Linked DNA regions of Homo sapiens: all the other regions are linked to region 4. Evidence: promoter capture Hi-C in 16 types of primary human blood cells and fetal thymus (Javierre and others, 2016). All regions are on one chromosome and are shown on one strand. Each heading gives the region's core, a stretch centred on a gene start or on the middle of the fragment in contact. The rest is flanking DNA. Distances are from core to core; before and after follow the strand shown.

The links. The method cuts DNA at HindIII sites, captures the fragments that hold promoters and counts their contacts. A CHiCAGO score of 5 or more calls a contact.
Region 1: a fragment that was not itself captured here is called in contact with the fragment with the promoter of GATM in region 4 in 12 of 17 cell types (monocytes, naive B cells, M0 macrophages and 9 more); the score reaches 10.7 in monocytes.
Region 2: a contact is called between a fragment that was not itself captured here and the fragment with the promoter of GATM in region 4, in 10 of 17 cell types (monocytes, naive B cells, M1 macrophages and 7 more). The highest score is 9.8, in monocytes.
Region 3: a fragment that was not itself captured here is called in contact with the fragment with the promoter of GATM in region 4 in 1 of 17 cell types (monocytes); the score reaches 5.1 in monocytes.

The regions. Positions count from the first base shown.
Region 1 is chr15:45,155,288-45,159,339 of GRCh38, forward strand. DUOX1 (dual oxidase 1) reads left to right here. Exons shown (of 34, transcript NM_175940.3): 28 at 515-642. Among named protein-coding and RNA genes, the nearest start is that of DUOX1, 27 kb to the left of the region's middle. The HindIII fragment of the contact is 2,638 bases long and covers 1,102-3,739 here.
Region 2 is chr15:45,201,912-45,206,041 of GRCh38, forward strand. No RefSeq gene overlaps it. Among named protein-coding and RNA genes, the nearest start is that of TRH-GTG1-9, 2.8 kb to the left of the region's middle. The HindIII fragment of the contact is 1,352 bases long and covers 1,588-2,939 here.
Region 3 is chr15:45,570,943-45,575,313 of GRCh38, forward strand. No RefSeq gene overlaps it. Among named protein-coding and RNA genes, the nearest start is that of BLOC1S6, 14 kb to the right of the region's middle. The HindIII fragment of the contact is 5,703 bases long and covers 1-4,371 here.
Region 4 is chr15:45,375,951-45,379,873 of GRCh38, forward strand. GATM (glycine amidinotransferase) reads right to left here and starts at 2,594. Exons shown (of 9, transcript NM_001482.3): 1 at 2,435-2,594; 2 at 651-869. The coding sequence starts at 2,503. RefSeq lists a silencer at 2,393-2,722 and an enhancer at 2,863-2,942. The HindIII fragment of the contact is 1,395 bases long and covers 2,098-3,492 here.

The sequences.
Region 1 (4,052 bases), core at 1,171-3,670, 220 kb before region 4:
GGTGTGGTGGCTCATGCCTGTATTCCCAGCACTTTGGGAGGCCAAGGTGGGCGGATCACCTGAGGCCAGGAGTTCAAGACCAGCCTGGCCAACATGGCAGAACCCTGTCTCTACTAAAAATAAAAAAAATTAGCTGGGCATGATGGTGCATGCCTTTAGTTCCAGCTACTCAGGAGGCCGAGGCAGAAGAATCATTTGAACCTGGGAGGCAGAGGTTGCAGTGAGCCGAGATTGCACCAATGCACTCCAGGGAGCCTGGGTAACAGAGCAAGACTCCATCTCAAAAAAAAAAAAAAAAAAAATCATGGTGACAAGGGCTATGAAAAGTGAACAATGTCTGCTGAAATGAAAGGTACCTGTGATCAGTGGTGTTGGGGGAGAGGACCAGAGGAGAATGCTGGGACATTCTTACTCCAACTTGGGCAGTGGAGTGGAGAGGGGACCTTGGAAGCTCCAGAACAGTTCCCTTTCAAGGCACTGATCTTCTGCCTTCCACCCTATATTCATTTTGCAGGCCTCACGGGGGTTGTGCTGCTCCTGATCCTGGCCATCATGTATGTCTTTGCCTCCCACCACTTCCGCCGCCGCAGTTTCCGGGGCTTCTGGCTGACCCACCACCTCTACATCCTGCTCTATGTCCTGGTGAGGGCTTTTGGCTGTGAGCCAGGCCAGGAGGGTATGGGCAGGACATTTCCAGGGAGGCAAGGAGAGCTGGGACATTCATTCAATTTCTAGCTATTTGAAGCATCCTCTTCACTTCTCGACGTCCCTCTTTGAAGGTGGAGATGATAGTACAGGGCTCTCCATTAGGATGACCCCAATATGCAGCACTTGGAAGCTCGGCTCCCTGGCATGGGTTTTGCAGTAGCAGCCCTGCCAGACTGATCTCCATTCCTCGCAGACACCTCCACCCCACTTCTGCCCAGCTAGTCTTTCCCCACTTTGGGTGGCTGGTTTTGGCTCCTGGGTGGACTACCTGCACCCAAGAGAGCATCACCCTTTTTGAAGAAACTTATCTTAAATGGGTTCTGCCACTTTTGTTCTGATCCTATTTTTGGGGGCATTAGTCACACCTGCTAAGTGCCACCTGTACAGTATATAAGCTTGTTCAAAATGACTTCAGTTGGATTGTTGATCTAATGAATTTTTATTTTTTATTTTTTGAGACAGAGTCTCGCCCTGTCGCCCAGGCTGGAGTGCAATGGCATGATCTCAACTCACAGCAACCACCGCCTTCCGGGTTCAAGCAATTCTCCTGTCTCAGCCTCCTGAGTAGCTGGGACTACAGGCACGCACCACCATGCCTGGCTAATTTTTGTATCTTTAGTAGAGACAGGGTTTCACCATGTTGGCCAGGCTGGTCTCGAATTCCTGACCTCGTGATCCACCCACCTCGGCCTCCCAAAGTGCTGGGATTACAGGCGTGAGCCACCGCGCCAGGCCAATCAAATAGATTTTTAAGACTCTACCTATCCCCTTTCCTTCTCCTTAACCTTGGCTCCTGCCTCCCTCTCTCCATGTTGCCTCCCTTCTCATGTTCCCTTCACCCTCCCCTGGGTTTCTCATCGGCTGCCTAGCTGGTTAGTTCCCGAGCTGATTCTGTGTCCCTGTGTTGTGGCTCTGCTTGTCTGCCTTCCTCATGAGCAGAGGCAATTCCCTAAAGGGTACTCTGAGGGCCTCACTTAGAAGCTAAACCAAATCCCAAGGCTCCAGCTGTTCCCTGCAGCAGAACTGCATACAGGGCTCTCCTTTGTGCCGAGACAAAGAGAAACTGCACCATGGCCTCGGTCAGGTTGGCTCCTGCCATCTGACCTGCCTTCTCTCAGGTGCAGTTCTGTCCTCACTGACAGATAGGAGGGTCTGTTTCATCTTGCCTGTTGCTCAGCATTTCACAGTTCTGAAGATGACTACTTAGCCTTGGCTTAGGATGTTTCCTAGAACTGATGATATGCGTTTCCTAAGAAACATCTCTTTCTTTGGAAGCTATGACTAATTTACCCTCTCTCCTCCTCTTCCCAATAATGAGTGGAGCCCTAGCATTCTCGGCTACTGCTTCTGTTGGGGGTGGAAATGACGTTCTTGTTCCTGGTGATAAAGCAGCTACTTTGAACTAGATGAGAGATCCAGAAGAGTGGCCAGGCAGGCTCCCTAAGACCCAGAGCCCTTTCTGATTTGTCCTGGGGTGTAGGCATCACTAGGATTCCAAGCCACCCTTCCTGCCAGCAGGAAAGTCAGGGGTTCGAAAGGTGTGGCCGGGCACAGTGGCTCACATCTGTAATCCAGCACTTTGAGATGCCGAGGTGGGTGGATCACCTGAGGCCAGGAGCTCAAGACCAGCCTGGTCAACATGGCGAAACCTCGTCTCTACTAAAAATACAAAAATTAGCTGAGTGTGGTGACGCACACCTATAGTCCTAGCTACTCAGGAGGCTGAGGCATGAGAATCGCTTGAACCCAGGAGGTGAAGGTTGCAGTGAGCCGAGATCATGCCATTACACTCTACCCTGGGCAACAGATGGACAGCCTGTTTAAAAAAAAAAAAAGAAATAAAAAAGGAAAAAAGAAAGGTGGAGGCCTCTATGCTAGGCTATCCTCACCAGCAGTTTGGGACAATCTCATCTCAGGGAGATCAGGGCAAGAGCACCCTCTTTGTTCCCACTTGTCCCAGGCGTGACCACTTGACTTCAAGCAGAAAGATAAATTACAAGTAAAGGACCCCAGTATAGACTAGACCCTGGGGAAGGATGGCCAGGCTTCTGATCCAGGCAGAAGAGGGCAGGGCTAGCACATCAGAGGCTGAGCTGGCTGAGCCACCACCCCATCCCACCAGCCAACAAGGAATCTGCAGCAGCCTTGTGGTTTAAAAGGAAAGCCAGCACAAAATAGGGTGTAGAAACAGAGCAGCATGACGTCACCCTGCCATTGTACTCAGCCTGTTTGGATGCTCAGAAAGCCTTAGGGGTGGGTGTGGGCTCCACAATGAAACAGTGAACTTGGGGAAGAAAGAGCCAGTTCAAAGAAGAGCTCAGAGAGGTTTAAGTTAGTCTTGTAGGGAAAGGTTCAAGAATCTAGGAAGACTTAGCTGGGGGAAGGGAACGCCTGAATGGGGAACCAGAGTTCAGTTTAAAAGCTATCTGTTGGCCGAGTGCAGTGGCTCGCACCTGTAATCCCAGCATTTTGGGAGGCTGAGGCGGGTGGATTACCTGAGATCAGGAGTTGGAGACCAGTCTGGCCAACATGGTGAAACCCCGTCTCTACAAAAAAATTAGCCGGGAGTGGTGGCATGCGCCTCTAATCCCAGCTACTCGGGAGGCTGAGGCAGGGGAATTTTTTGAACCAGGGAGGTGGAGGTTGCATTGAGCCAAGATCACACCACTGCACTCCAGCCTGGGTGACAGCGAGACTTCCATCTCAAAAAAAAAAAAAAAAAAAAAAAAAAAAAGCAGCTATCTGTGTATCTGTGGAGGGTCTTTTATGTACTAGCTCTCTGTAGGGCCCAGCAGCAGAAGGGGAGACTCTAATCTCTTCCTTAGGAACTTAGGATTCGCTGTGACAAAAAGTGGCACATGCATGAAATGATCAAAATGAACACTTGATATAGGATTAATTGCTGAGCGGAGTGTTCCAAACAGTAAGTTATAGGAGTTCACTGAAGGGAGTTTCACTTGGGCTAAATTGGCTAGGGAAGACTTTGAGGAGAAGACTGGACTTGGGCCAAGGGTCTGGGGGAGGTAAGCTAAGCTTTGACAGGGCAGAGTGGAAACTGAAGAGCAATCCAGGTAAAAGGAAGGGCATGAGCACAGGCAGAGGTGGGAATGGTGATAGGATATTCAGGAGGCAGAGGGGACAGGGCTGGCTGCAGATGGCCATAGGGCATTAGGTGGTGGCAGGACATGCTGCTGGTGATCATGTGGCAGCTGCAGTTGAAACTGAGGGGCTGTGGCTCAGCTGAGAGGCCATGCCACATGGCGGAGCATAGAAAGAGATGAGCAGAGGGTGACAAAACCAGGCTTGGGCAACACCCATGACTGGGGGTGGCAGAAGGAATTAAG
Region 2 (4,130 bases), core at 1,014-3,513, 170 kb before region 4:
AGCTGGTGGTGGCTATGTCACTCTCAAGGAGGGAATGAGAGGGCACTGAGGAATGAGCCTCTCCAGCTCCTCTCAGGTGTCCTGAGGGTGGCAAGGCAAGCCCGAGATCATTCCTGGGAGAGACAGACATTGCAATGGGGTTGCGCCCCCTCTACCCACAATCAATCAGTAAAGAATGAACAGCACTTAAAAGCTAGGCACTGGCTTCATGCCTGTAATCCCAGCACTCTGGGAGGCCGAGGTGGGCGGATCTCTTGAGCTCAGGAGCTCCAGACCAGCCTGGGCAACATGGCGAAACCCTGTCTGTACCCAAAATACAAAAATTAGGGCATGGTGGCGTGTGCCTGTAGTCCCGGCTACCTGGGAGGCTAAGGTGGAAGGATTGCTTGAACCCGAGAGGCAGAGGTTGCAGTGAGCTGAGATCACACCACTGCATTCCAGCCTGGGCGACAGAGCAAGACCCTGTCTCAAAAAAAAAAAAAAAAAAAAAAAAAAAAAAGCAAGGCACTGCGTGGGGGCTGTAATCTCCCCAGGTCTCCAGTCTCCCAGTTCTCTACATTTGGCGAGTTTAAACCACACAACAGGACAGCTCACACCTCGAGAGTGTTCTGCGCAAAATAGAATGGGGAAAGGTGAGCCTGAGAACTTGCCAAGCTTTGGATGACTGATTCAAACGTTATATGTCTAGAAAATCAACATCGCCAACAACAAAAAAAGAACTGGCCAACAGGAATGTGGTGACTTATATTCCTCCAACCCCTCACCAAATAACTGCTGTGACGGATTTCAATCTGTGGGCTGGAATAAGGTGTCAGGGTGGGATGCCAGGAAAGGCTCTGGCTTTTCCCCTGAAGACCAGCCCCCACTGCCCTGCTGCAGGTGCTTCAGTAGGCAATGAGCTGCTCCCACACCCTGAGGAGAAAGTTAGGAGTAGCCACTCTCTAAGAGTACTACAAGGAAAAAGTGTCAACCAAGAGGCTGGGCATGGTGGTTCATGCCTGTAATCCCAGCATTTTGGGAGGCTGAGGTGGGAGGATTGCTTGAGCTCCGGGGTTTGAGACCAGCCTAGACAACATGGTGAGAAGCTCTCTCTATAAAAAATACAAAAATTAGCCAGGTGTGGCGGTGTGTACCTGTAGTCCCAGCTATTCAGGAGGCTGAAGTGGGAGAATTGCTTGAGCCTGGGAGGGGGAGATTGCAGTGAGCCGTGATCATGCCACTGAACTCCAGCCTGGGCAACAGAACAAGACCCTGTCTCAAAAAAAAAAAAAAGCGTCAACCAATAAAACAAAAATCACAAACATTCACCATCTGAGATAACCCACTAGCCATCCATGTCTGAGGTCAGGAATGCTAAAGAAAGCTGAACTGAAAGTGTTGTATTGTGACCTAGTTGCAGGAAGAGTGACACGAGGGGAGGGCTGCCTTTTTGGCAGCTACACGGTAGTCCATGAGATGGGCGCATCCAGCTCTCAACATTTCATAACATCCTCTTCTGAGGTCACTCAGTCAATTTTCCTTACAAAACAGACTTTGATAATGATTTGCCCATTAGACTTCCCTACAGGAAAAAGCATGCTTTGAACAAGCTTATTGGCACTGTTCTCCTAACTGTGGGTGTTTTGGTTTAGACTCATAAGAGTCTGGTTAGCATAATTCATTTCCCTTGTGCCTACTTATCTCTAGGTACACTGACAAAATGGAATGTCAGGGCTGGCAAAGCCCTGCTCCTGGAGACCCTGGCCTGGAATGACCTCATCAAGACCCCGCTGCCCTGGGACACCCTCTCTGAGCAATCAGTCAGCACCCCCTTCCTGTTGGTCCCTTGCTTTTAAAATTGTTTTATGATTTCTGATTCTGGGAATGTAATATTTCCTCCTATCACTTCCAGCTTGAGGTTGGAACTCTTCTCTAGGTCTCAGTGCCAGGAAAGAGGTAGGGTGCTTATACTTAAGAGCACCCTGTTCACACATTCCAGCTCCAGTTGTTCCCATCTTGGTTGGATTTGTTAATTTCTGCAGGTTTCCAACCTCTAAGTCACTTTGAATTTTTTTCCCTTCCATCTGATAGACCCTGAGGTACAGTAGTTGATAGTACTAGACTAGTCCTAACTCTAATTAAGGGGTAGCATAAGTTGGGGATGGTGGCTCACGCCTGTAATCCCAGCACTTTGGGAGACTAAGGTGGGAGGATTGCTTGAGCCCAGGAGTTCAAGACCAGACTAGACAGTATAATGAGACCTCGTCTCTGTTGGGGGAGCTAGCATAGCTTAGTAATGAAGCCTCTGACACCTGAAAGTAGGCTGTTTAAGATTTGAATCTCAACTCATCCATTTACTAACTAGGTGACCCTGGGGAAGCAACATGTCTCCATGCCTCAGTTTTCTCACCTGTAAAATGATTGTAGAATGACTTCTCATCTGTAAAAGGATTGTTATGAAGATTAAATGAATGAATATTTGTAAAGCAATAGTGCCTGGCACTTACAAAGCCCTACTGAAGTTTTACTTAAATAATATAGTAGATGGGAATATAACATAATGAAATCAACTCCTTAAAAATGAACACCCTGGAACATAAACATCCAAATGAGTATTGTGTTTCAAATCAGGCATTCCACTTTCTCCAAACAGCTGCCCAAAATATTTTTGGAATTCTTATTTGGAGATTATTTTCAGGGCTAATTTATAAGCCATATGAGTACATCCACCTCAATATTTATAATCACATTCTATTTTGAAATAACTTTTGACTGCTTTTAAAGCTACCTTCAAAGAGAAAAATGTCACCACTGAGTCTTTTAAGGCACAAAAATTTCAATGACAATGCCAGAAATGTTTTATAAATAACATTCCAGCAAAAGAAAAACAATTTTTTTTTTTTGGTAGGAGTGTGTAGACTTCAAAGGGCAAACCTTGAAAGGGACAACAGTAATTTATAAGCTTCAGATTGTCTGCTTAAACCATCAACCCCACAGCTTCCTGGTTATACTCCCTGGTTATACCTCGTATATCTGGGAGCTGCCAACCCCCACAGGGGCGCAGTGTTGAGCAGCTGCCACTGGACCAGCAGGCTCTGGTCCTGGAAGGCTTGTCCAAAATTCAGAATCTTGATCCACAACTCAGAATTACCCAGTGAAAATCTTCGGTTTTCCACAAGGTCCTCTCCAAGTGATTCATCTGCACAGGAAAGTTTGAGAAGTGCTGCTCTAGCCTAAAGCTCTAATGGAATCCTTCATTGTTCATCTTGTGAGTACTTGGGTTACTAGAAGGGACCTGCCTGAATCTACTGAGCCTCATCAATGGGGATGTCATTGAGGTTTTCACAGTGAGGAGATGGTGATCTGGGAGGGAGTCATCAAAGGGCCCATGTTTAGGGCCGTCTAGGGAGGAGGCAGCACATCTGGATTTCCACTAGAAGGCGCTGTGCCCCAGGAAGTAGTAGTGAAAAGCTGAGGCTGGAAAAGACTCATTTAATTTGCAACATACCACTTCTGACTTAACTGAGCCTGTTCCACAGGGATTCTCTGGGTAATGAGGACTCAGATTTCATCCATCTACTTATCTATCCATTCATCCATCCATCCATCCATCCATCCATCCATCCATCCATCCACTCATTCATTCATTCATTCATTCTTCATTCTTCCCATAAACTAGCATCTCTTAGTTCTTAAGTCATTGGGGGCTGCAAAGCTGTATAAGATACTTCTTGCCTAGAGTAGTTTATTTTTGAGCTGAGTTTGTCAACTGAGATTTGCCCCTCATCCAAAGTCAAGTGACCAGCATAGACTGTTCAATATGCTGTAGTCGGTCTCTTGTTTCTAGGTACTTCTCTCCATATCCACAAAAAGAAACTGTAGGGAAAGATGGTGCAGGACTTTATTCCTGGCATGAGACCTGAAACTAATTCCTGAGTCAGGAAGAATGCAGGAGCTGCCTTGCAGAAGCAAAGGTCTAAATCAGTGGTTTCCAAACTTTTTAGAACTGATAAACTAGGACAAACTTTTCACCACTGAATGAAAAAATGAGGTCAATGTGGTAAGCTTTTAAAATGCTAAATGCATTTAATCCAAAGGACTGTCCTCTAGGCTGAGACAATGACCTTTTTATTTTTGAGGTATTAAAGTGA
Region 3 (4,371 bases), core at 832-3,331, 190 kb after region 4:
ACTCACAGCAGGACTCTCCAACTGGGAGCTGGGGCCAGATGGGAGAGCCAGTCATTGCTCCAGTTGCCTTCTGAGGCAAAAAGGAAGGAGAAATACCTTGATTTCTTCTTTACCACCCCCTTCCAATCTCCCAGCCTGTAACCTCTACTAGTGCCTCCCATTGGCCAAACTCAGCTGGAAGCAAGCTGGCACAGGGACCAGGAAAGCCAGCCCCTGTGGTATGGGGCAGAGCAGGGAAGGTGACGGTGGGACTGAGGAAAACCAGGACTGATAAAATCCTGCAGTAGTCATTGGCATTCAGGGATTAGTTCTCCTAAGTTTATGATGAGATACAGACAGACTATATTTATCTCTTTATTAAGTAAATTAATTTAAAGTCTATTTTTCTCTCTGGGAGCACATAATAGAGACTTTTCTGAAAACTTAGAGGGAAAAATGACATCTTGAGATATTTAGCTGTTAATAAAAATTAATGCCTTTAAATATACCCTTTCATCTACTACATCAAATAAGCAGTTTTGAAAAAATACTTTAAAATGAAGGTAAGTGAATAATTAATTTTAAAGACAGCACTTTCCTAAGTAAATTCAAAAAATGTTGACAAGAAATTTATAGGAAGTCCAAAGACTAGGGCAATAATTTAGAAATTACTTGATCCACTGGCATTTTTAAACTGAAAAAGGAATCAGAGACTCTGAACTCTTTGTATTATTGACCTCATTACATTATAAGGAAATTGAATTTTTAAAATATCATCTCACCTTTTGGTCTGGAGAATCTTTGGAAATAATTCACATTTAGCAACTGAAACACTTTGAAGAGAACATTTTAAGTAAAAAAAGGACTATTTTGCATAGCTAATGCAAGTACTTATTTTAGCAATTTTAAATGAAGCATGATCTATCTCCTAGCTAATTTAAATAAATCTATCCTAAAAGGAAAGCTGAGTCCTGGAATAATATATGATGCCTATGGTCATTAAAATCACACTTTTTCCATAACATAGAGAATAAAGTAATAATGACTGATGGCTACTTTGATATCTACATGTAAGATTAACAAATGAATTTTGTGAAAACCCCAAAGTGGAAGAAGAATCGCTGTCTTTTGAATAATATTTAAAGTTATTTGAATGAATCATCATTTGTGACTAGTTTTACTAATAGTTCAAAAACACTGATACTATTTCAAATGATTAACACTCAATATTACGGATATTCATTTACTGTCAGATTTGATAATACTAAATAAAAAATAAAAAAGATTCCCCACCTGCCAATAGAAGCAGAACACTGGTATTGGTGATGTTCTCTATCCCTCACAGCTTGATCTTCTAATTTTGCAGGTTTGCAACTTCAGTTGCCAGCTTAACCAGTTGATATTAACCACTAAAAAACTGCCTATTGTATGAAGTTGATTTGTATAAAAGAAATGAATTTTAATAAAACATAGAATTGCCAAGCCCTCCGATATTCATTTAAGTCATTTAGTCCCTCTTATTTCAACAGAGAAGTCTACATAAGAAGCCAAATTAAGGTTGAATGGTTACTTAGGAAACCTAAAGTCTATTTAAGAGATCACATTAAGGTTAGTGAATATATGTATCCAAGGCACTAATAACAGAAATAATACTATTTCTTCTAGCCATAATAAATGCTCGTTTAGTGGGTGCTATTATTTACAATAGTGTCTTGCAGCAGTTTACAAATCCTGTTCATATAATGCGTGCTTGATTCTTACAAGAACTACACCGAGTAATGGGTCTGGTATTATCATTATCATGCCTCTTTTACTGATGAAAAAAACACAGGTTCAGAGAGTAAGTGACTTGACTAAAATCTCATAACTGATATAGTTGACATCTGTTGTTTTGGTTGGGCCAATTTCCTTCCTCTTTTTGGTAATAGGACTCTGATTTTTCCTTTAAGGAACTACCCAGTGCCTTTCTATAACTCCTAGCAGGTCTGTCAGTCAAGGGGCTCTGCCTCTGTCTGTTATGTGTGACCCACACTGACCCATCAGGGTCCACTATATTCCCCTAGATGCAGAGATTGGTATACGGGTGGGCATGTAATCCAAGTATTTGAGTGTTTTTTTTTTTTTTGAGATGGAGTCTTGCTCTGTTGCCCAGGCTGGAGTGCAGTGGTGCAATCTTGGCTCACTGCAACCTCTGCCTCCTGGGTTCAAGCAATTCTCCTACCTCAGCCTCCCGAGTAGCTGGGATTACAGGCATGCGTCACCACACCTGGCTAATTTTTGTATTTTTTGTAAAGACGGGGTTTCACCATGTTGGCCAGGCTGGTCTTGAACTCCTGACCTCAAGTGAGCCACCTGCTTCAGCCTCCCAAAGTGCTGGGATTACAAGTGTGAGCCACTGTGCCTGGCTTTGAGTTTTTTTTTTTTTTTTTTTAAGGGATTGAAATAAATGAATGCTAGGAGCGCACTGACTTCACTTGGGAGATGTAAGGATCATGAAACCCTGGAGCTATTTTCCTATCACATTGAGAGAGCTCCTAGAGTGAATGCTACATAGGAGAAAGCAGAGTGGAGAATCAAAGGGAGAGAGAGGGAGAGATTCCTATTTTGGCTGAGGAGAAGACATAGAAATCCTTGAAGCCAGAGCAGCCCCCGGACTTTCAAGCTCAGTTGATCAAAACTTCCTTTGTTTGTTTAGGAAGGTCTGGACTTCTCTACTTGCTAGTTGGTTAGACAAAAATCTAATACAGCTAATGATTATCTTAGCTGGGCTTGAAACAAATCTTTTGACTTTAGCCCTTTGCTATTTCTTTTCTTGGGATATTTGAGGTGCTGCTTTTCTGGCTGGAAACCTCTGTGGGTGGTGGTGCCTTTGCCCAAGTTCTTGTCCTATGTCCAGGAAGAGTGATGTATGCAGACAAGTGGAGGGTGAGCAAGACGAAGAAGAACTTTACTGAGGGTCAGAACAGCTCAGAGGAGACCCGCGGTGAGCAGGTCCTCTCTGTGGGCAGGTCGTCCCATCGAGTGTGCAGCTCTCAGCAGAGAGGAGGCCTGGAGTGGATGGCTCCTCTCTGCTGACAGGTCATCCCCAAAAATGTTCATCTCTCAGCGGAGATGGTAGTTCCTCTATGCAGCTGGCCATCCTGATGTCTGCCCTGCTCTGGCTGAGTCTGGGGTTTTTATGGTTTTCATTCAGAGTGGGGAAAGTATATGCTGATTGGTCCATGGGCAGCAATAGGTGGGCTCAGGAAAAAGCACCACAAGTTCCCCCTCTGGTGGGCAGGACTGGTAGGACCTTCCCTGGCCTGAAAGTGGAGCTTCACTGGGGACCCACCCCCTTCCTCCCAGGAGCCTGTCTGCCTCTCACGGCCATTCATTGGCACCCAGGATGTTTGTGCCAAGAGGTGCCTGCAGGCCAGTGTTGAGCTACGTGCAGTCCCCCTCGGCTTCCCTCCCATGATCCTCATCACCCAAAGTCTGGAGGGGACTGATGTGGCTGGGGGCTGGTGTGTCAGCACTGCCCTGAGCATGAGCCCCCTGGCTGGGCTGCAACAATGCCGGGGCTCGGCTCCAACCTTGCTCCAGGATTAGAGCAGGAGCTGACAGTGGGAGAAGCCAGGCAGCAGGAACAGGTGCTGGCAGGGGGCTCTGGGAGAGAGCTGGCTCTGGGCTCCCAAGAGCACAGAGACCCCTGGGTCTGCAGCCGAAGGGCAGGGCTCCTGCCTGCTCCATGGATCGTATTTTCCTTTAAGGAACTACCCAGTGCCTCCCTGCTGTAGCTGGCATCTTGGCAATGGCCACTTTAGATGAGTCGCTGCTGCTATCATTTCTATGGAGGTATACCTCAGAAAGGTGTCCCTGACTATAAATGTCAAAACTGGTCATGTGCTTTTGTGAGTAATTTGAAAATCTGCCCTCTTTCTATAGAGACATACTGTCCTAAGTTGCTTTCTAATGTTCATTTTAAAAATTAAATCAAGAGAATGGGAAGACCAGCCATAGACTGGGAGAAAATATTTTCAAAAACATGTCTGATAGGCCAGGTGCAGTGGCTCACACCTGTAATCCCAGCACTTTGGGAGGCTGAGGCAGGCAGATCACCTGTGGTCACGAGTTTGAGACCAGCCTGGCCAACGTGGTGAAACCCTGTCTGTACTAAAAATACAAAAATTAGCCAGGTGTGGTGGTGCATGCCTGTAATCCCAGCTACTTGGGAGGCTGAGGAATGAGAATCACTTGAACCCAGGAGGCAGAGGTTGCAGTGAGCCAAGACTGCACCACTGCTCTCCAAGCTGGGTGGCAGAGTGAGACTTCGTCTCATAAAAACAAAAAAACAACAACAAAAAAACCATGTCTGATAAAGGACTATTATGCAAAATATACAAATAACTCTTA
Region 4 (3,923 bases), core at 1,344-3,843:
ATGAGCTCCCAACCTTTAGGGAGAGGCAAAGCAGAGGAATGAGGCAAGATTCATTTTTGACAAAAGCCTTGTTACATCACGTGACATAAGGAGAAATCAAAGATGATTCTTTTGTGTTTTAGCTTGATTAAATAGGAATGCCAATAATTAAAAGGCAGGAATGAGGAGGGATCCACTTGAGCAGGTGGCTGGCAACTGAACTCCAGATGTGCCAAGTTTGAAGTCCTGTGGCAATATCCCGTAAGGAGTTTAACTCGTTGATCTGGAAGGAGTTCAATACAGAGATCCGGACCAGAGAGGAGGTGGGAGCGGTAGCTGTGAGAATGGCTAAGAGAAGGGGGCTGAAAGTAATATTCTGTTCAACCTTGCCATTACAGGCTGTGACGGAAGAAGATCTGAGGACAGTGAAAGAACTATTATTCCCAGAAAAGCTCTCTCAGAATCCAAGGGAAGAGCTTCAGGAAGCTCTTCAGGAAGGAAGCAATTATCATTGGTGTAAATAGTGTCAAATACCACAGAGGTGTCAAGTAAGATAACTTAATCACTGGATTGAGAGGTCTGGGAGTAAGCTGAAGGGAAAGCAGTCAGAGGGTAGCAGCAGCAGGTGAGGAGGGAGCGCACTTTCAGACATGTGAATAGCCTTCCTTTACCTTCACCTCGATGGTGAACGGTGGAACACAGGCGTTTTCTGCTCTGCCCACTATCACTTCCTCTAAGGGGTCCCATTCGTTGTAAGAAGAGACAGGGCAGTCCTTGGGCAGAGGCTCAGTGGCTTTGTCGTCAGCTGCACAGGAGTTCCGGGAGGAAGCCGTAGCTGCCTGGGTGCTCTGGAAAGTTCGCTGCACCCATCCTGTCAAGGTTCGTCCAAGCTTCCAAGAACAAAGAAAAGATTATTGTATTGCATTGCTCTATCAGTACTTACAGAGAGGAGGAAGTGGAGATGGAGTAAAAATCCAGCATAACATTGCCACTTAAACCCCTTTAGAACAGCATAAACCAAGACGTTAACAGTGTGTAGGTGGGTAGTGGGATTACAGATAATTTTTTTAACCCTCTTGTTTATCTACAAATTGTCTTCTTATCTATTAATTGCTGTAACTCTTTAAAACTCCTCAGAAGACCGTGTCCCCAGCTACCATACACCCCCATCTTTATCTCAGAATGCAATTCCTGCACTCAAGCTTTAAGCAACTGTTTTGCAGATGGGTCAGTCCTCCTCTCAGAAAACCATAGACAGCTGCTCTAAAACTTCCCGCCAGTCTCAGCTGGGGACGGAACCTCCTTTTCCCTTAAGTATCAAAGGTTACCAATATTAGGCTTTTTATTTATTTTTTTTTACAAATGAAAAGTTGGGAACATTTGTAAAGGACCTTATCTTTCAGAATAACCAGCTTCAAATCAAATTTTTTTCATCTTTGACATACACTTCGCATTCTTTGGCACTTCAATTCTGAGAGTGAGCAACTGCCATCTGCTCCATTTTACAGATGGTCCACAGTACCCTAGCCAAGGTCAGGATTAGCTCAGGCGTAAATTCAAACAAATAAGAAGGAGATCTAAAAACTTCAAAAGCCTTTTAAAAATGCATGGCCTATAAAATCTAGAGCAGGGAGGGTCCCTCAACCCCTGAGCAAACCTCAACCCCCCAAATCTCTATCCTGCTCTGTTAAAAGCCTTAGGAAGTGGGCAGGAGGAGAACTCGGGTGGAGGCAGAAGAAAGACGGAGAATGACAGCTGTTCAGGAACCAGTTGCTGGGAGGAAGCCAGAATGTCGGAGCGATTCCAGTACTAGAAGCATGGGAGGGTCTGCTGCCAGGGCAGCCGAGGGCGGGGAGCGCAGAAACTCTGCTTACAGGCTGCACTCGCCCCGACTCCTCTCCAGACGTGGGATCCCATGTTATACTTGGAGTGAATCTGGTCGCTCGCTCCCCGTCCCCGATTCCCACTTTGCTTGCCTCTTCTCCCCATCCATCTACCCCACACGCATTTTCCAGAAATCTCCCCAACTCGACGCCCACTCAGGCTACTGAACCCCAATAACGCCACCCTTTTACTAAGAGGAGCCTCCGTCGTCCCAACCCCTTGCTCCGAGCGGGAAGCTTGGTGCAGCGCACCAAGGTCCGGTAGAGGGGGGCGGCGCCCCCTGCGCCGTGGGCCAGCAGGCCGCGGACGCGCAGACAGCAAGTGGACCCCAAGGGCTGGAGCCGCAACGCAAGTTCCCCCTGACTGGGGGACGCCGCCCAGCTCCTGGAGCCTGCGAAGGCTCTTGAAGCTGAGCTTCCCAGGGATACCAGAAGGGACACTCTCGTGCAATTCCGGCTAGGGAAAGCGAGGGAAGGTGGCGGCTCCGGGCAGGGAGCGAGCGAGTGCTCCACGCCGCCCGCAGGATCGAGTGAGTCACGCGGCCGCCAGACGAGGCCGGTGGCGCACGCACCCGAGATCCGATGTAGTGCACCGCCTCGGCGCCGCGGCTCCCGCCGCGCAGACACCGCACCCGCAGCATCGCCCTGGCCCGGCTGGTCCACGCGCGGAATGTTCCTGGCCTCTGGGCCGCGTCGGTCCAAGCCTTCCCGAGAGCGCGCCCGGAGCGGGGTGGGCGGGCGCGCGGGGCCCGAGGCCTTTTGTAGCCGCGCTCCGCCCCGGCCGCCCCCCGCGGCCCCATTGGCTGCCGGGAACAGGTGGTGGGGCCGGCGTAGCGCCCCGAATTAGGAACTGTCGGGAAGCGCCGCGGCCGCTGGCTCGAGCCTCCGATGCTTGCCCTTTTTTAGCCAGCGGGGCCACTGACGGCTTCTGTTGCACGTCCGGACCCGGACCCAGACCCGAGCGTCGCAAGAAGGCCCGTTGGAGTCTCGCGCAACTGGGCAGGACGCGACTTCTGACGAAGTGACAATGGTCTATGCATATATTAAGTGAATATTTGAGAATTTAAATATGCAAAGCGTGAGTACAGTGTTACCCTTAAATTCACATATGCGCACTGAACCAGTCACCTCATTTTTCGGTAAACGAAACCACCTAAAGATTAGGTGGTTTCTTGGTGCAACATCGGGTTTGAGACTGCAGAAAACTAAGTCTGGAAATTGGGCCATTTGTTCCCCGGGGAGGCAGTGCTTTCCTTCCAGTACCCCGTCGGTTGTTATTTGGAACACCTGGCATTTCACATGGTCTTTGGCCATATGCCCCTGGCTTGAGAAACTCCGTCATGAAAATCGACAAGTGTGGGTCAGAAATAAGGGAGGACGACAGTTTCGTTCCTTCCATTTCATGTTTTAAAATTTTTGTTTCAACTTGATCAGGATTCTTTTTTAGAAAAGTATTTTCCCTCACAGTGCAGTCTTAATTGCTGTGGATTTGTACAGAGCTAGAGAACTCAGGTTAACATTTATGCTCCTAGCAGGAGGGGGGGCAAGAGATTTGAGTATTTCATTTTTGTACTTATAGAATTATAACTATTCATTTTTGATGAGCTGTCTTTTCAATTTTGGTATCTCAAGCTTGTTTTCCAGAGTTCATGGATGGAAAGCACCAGACGAGCAGATGGCATGGTGGAAAGAGCCTCCGAGAGGGAATTAGGATAACTGAGTTCCAGTCCTGAATCACTTATAGACTACTATATGTCTTCCTGAATTGCAGTCTTCTTATCTGCAAAGTGAGAACAATAGAATTTACTGTCCCTAGCACATGGGGGGTTGCTGAGAGGCCAAAATGAGAGATTGTACATGCAGAACTTGATGCGTGGCATTAGAGCTGTATGAGGCCGGGTGCAGTGGCTCACGCCTGTAATCCCAGCAATTGGGAAGGCCGAGGCAGGCGGATTGCCTGAGGTCAGGAGTTTGAGACTATCCTGGTCAACATGATGAAACCCTGTCTACTAAAAATACAAAAACTAGGTCGGGCGCGGTGGCTCATGCTTGTAATCCCAG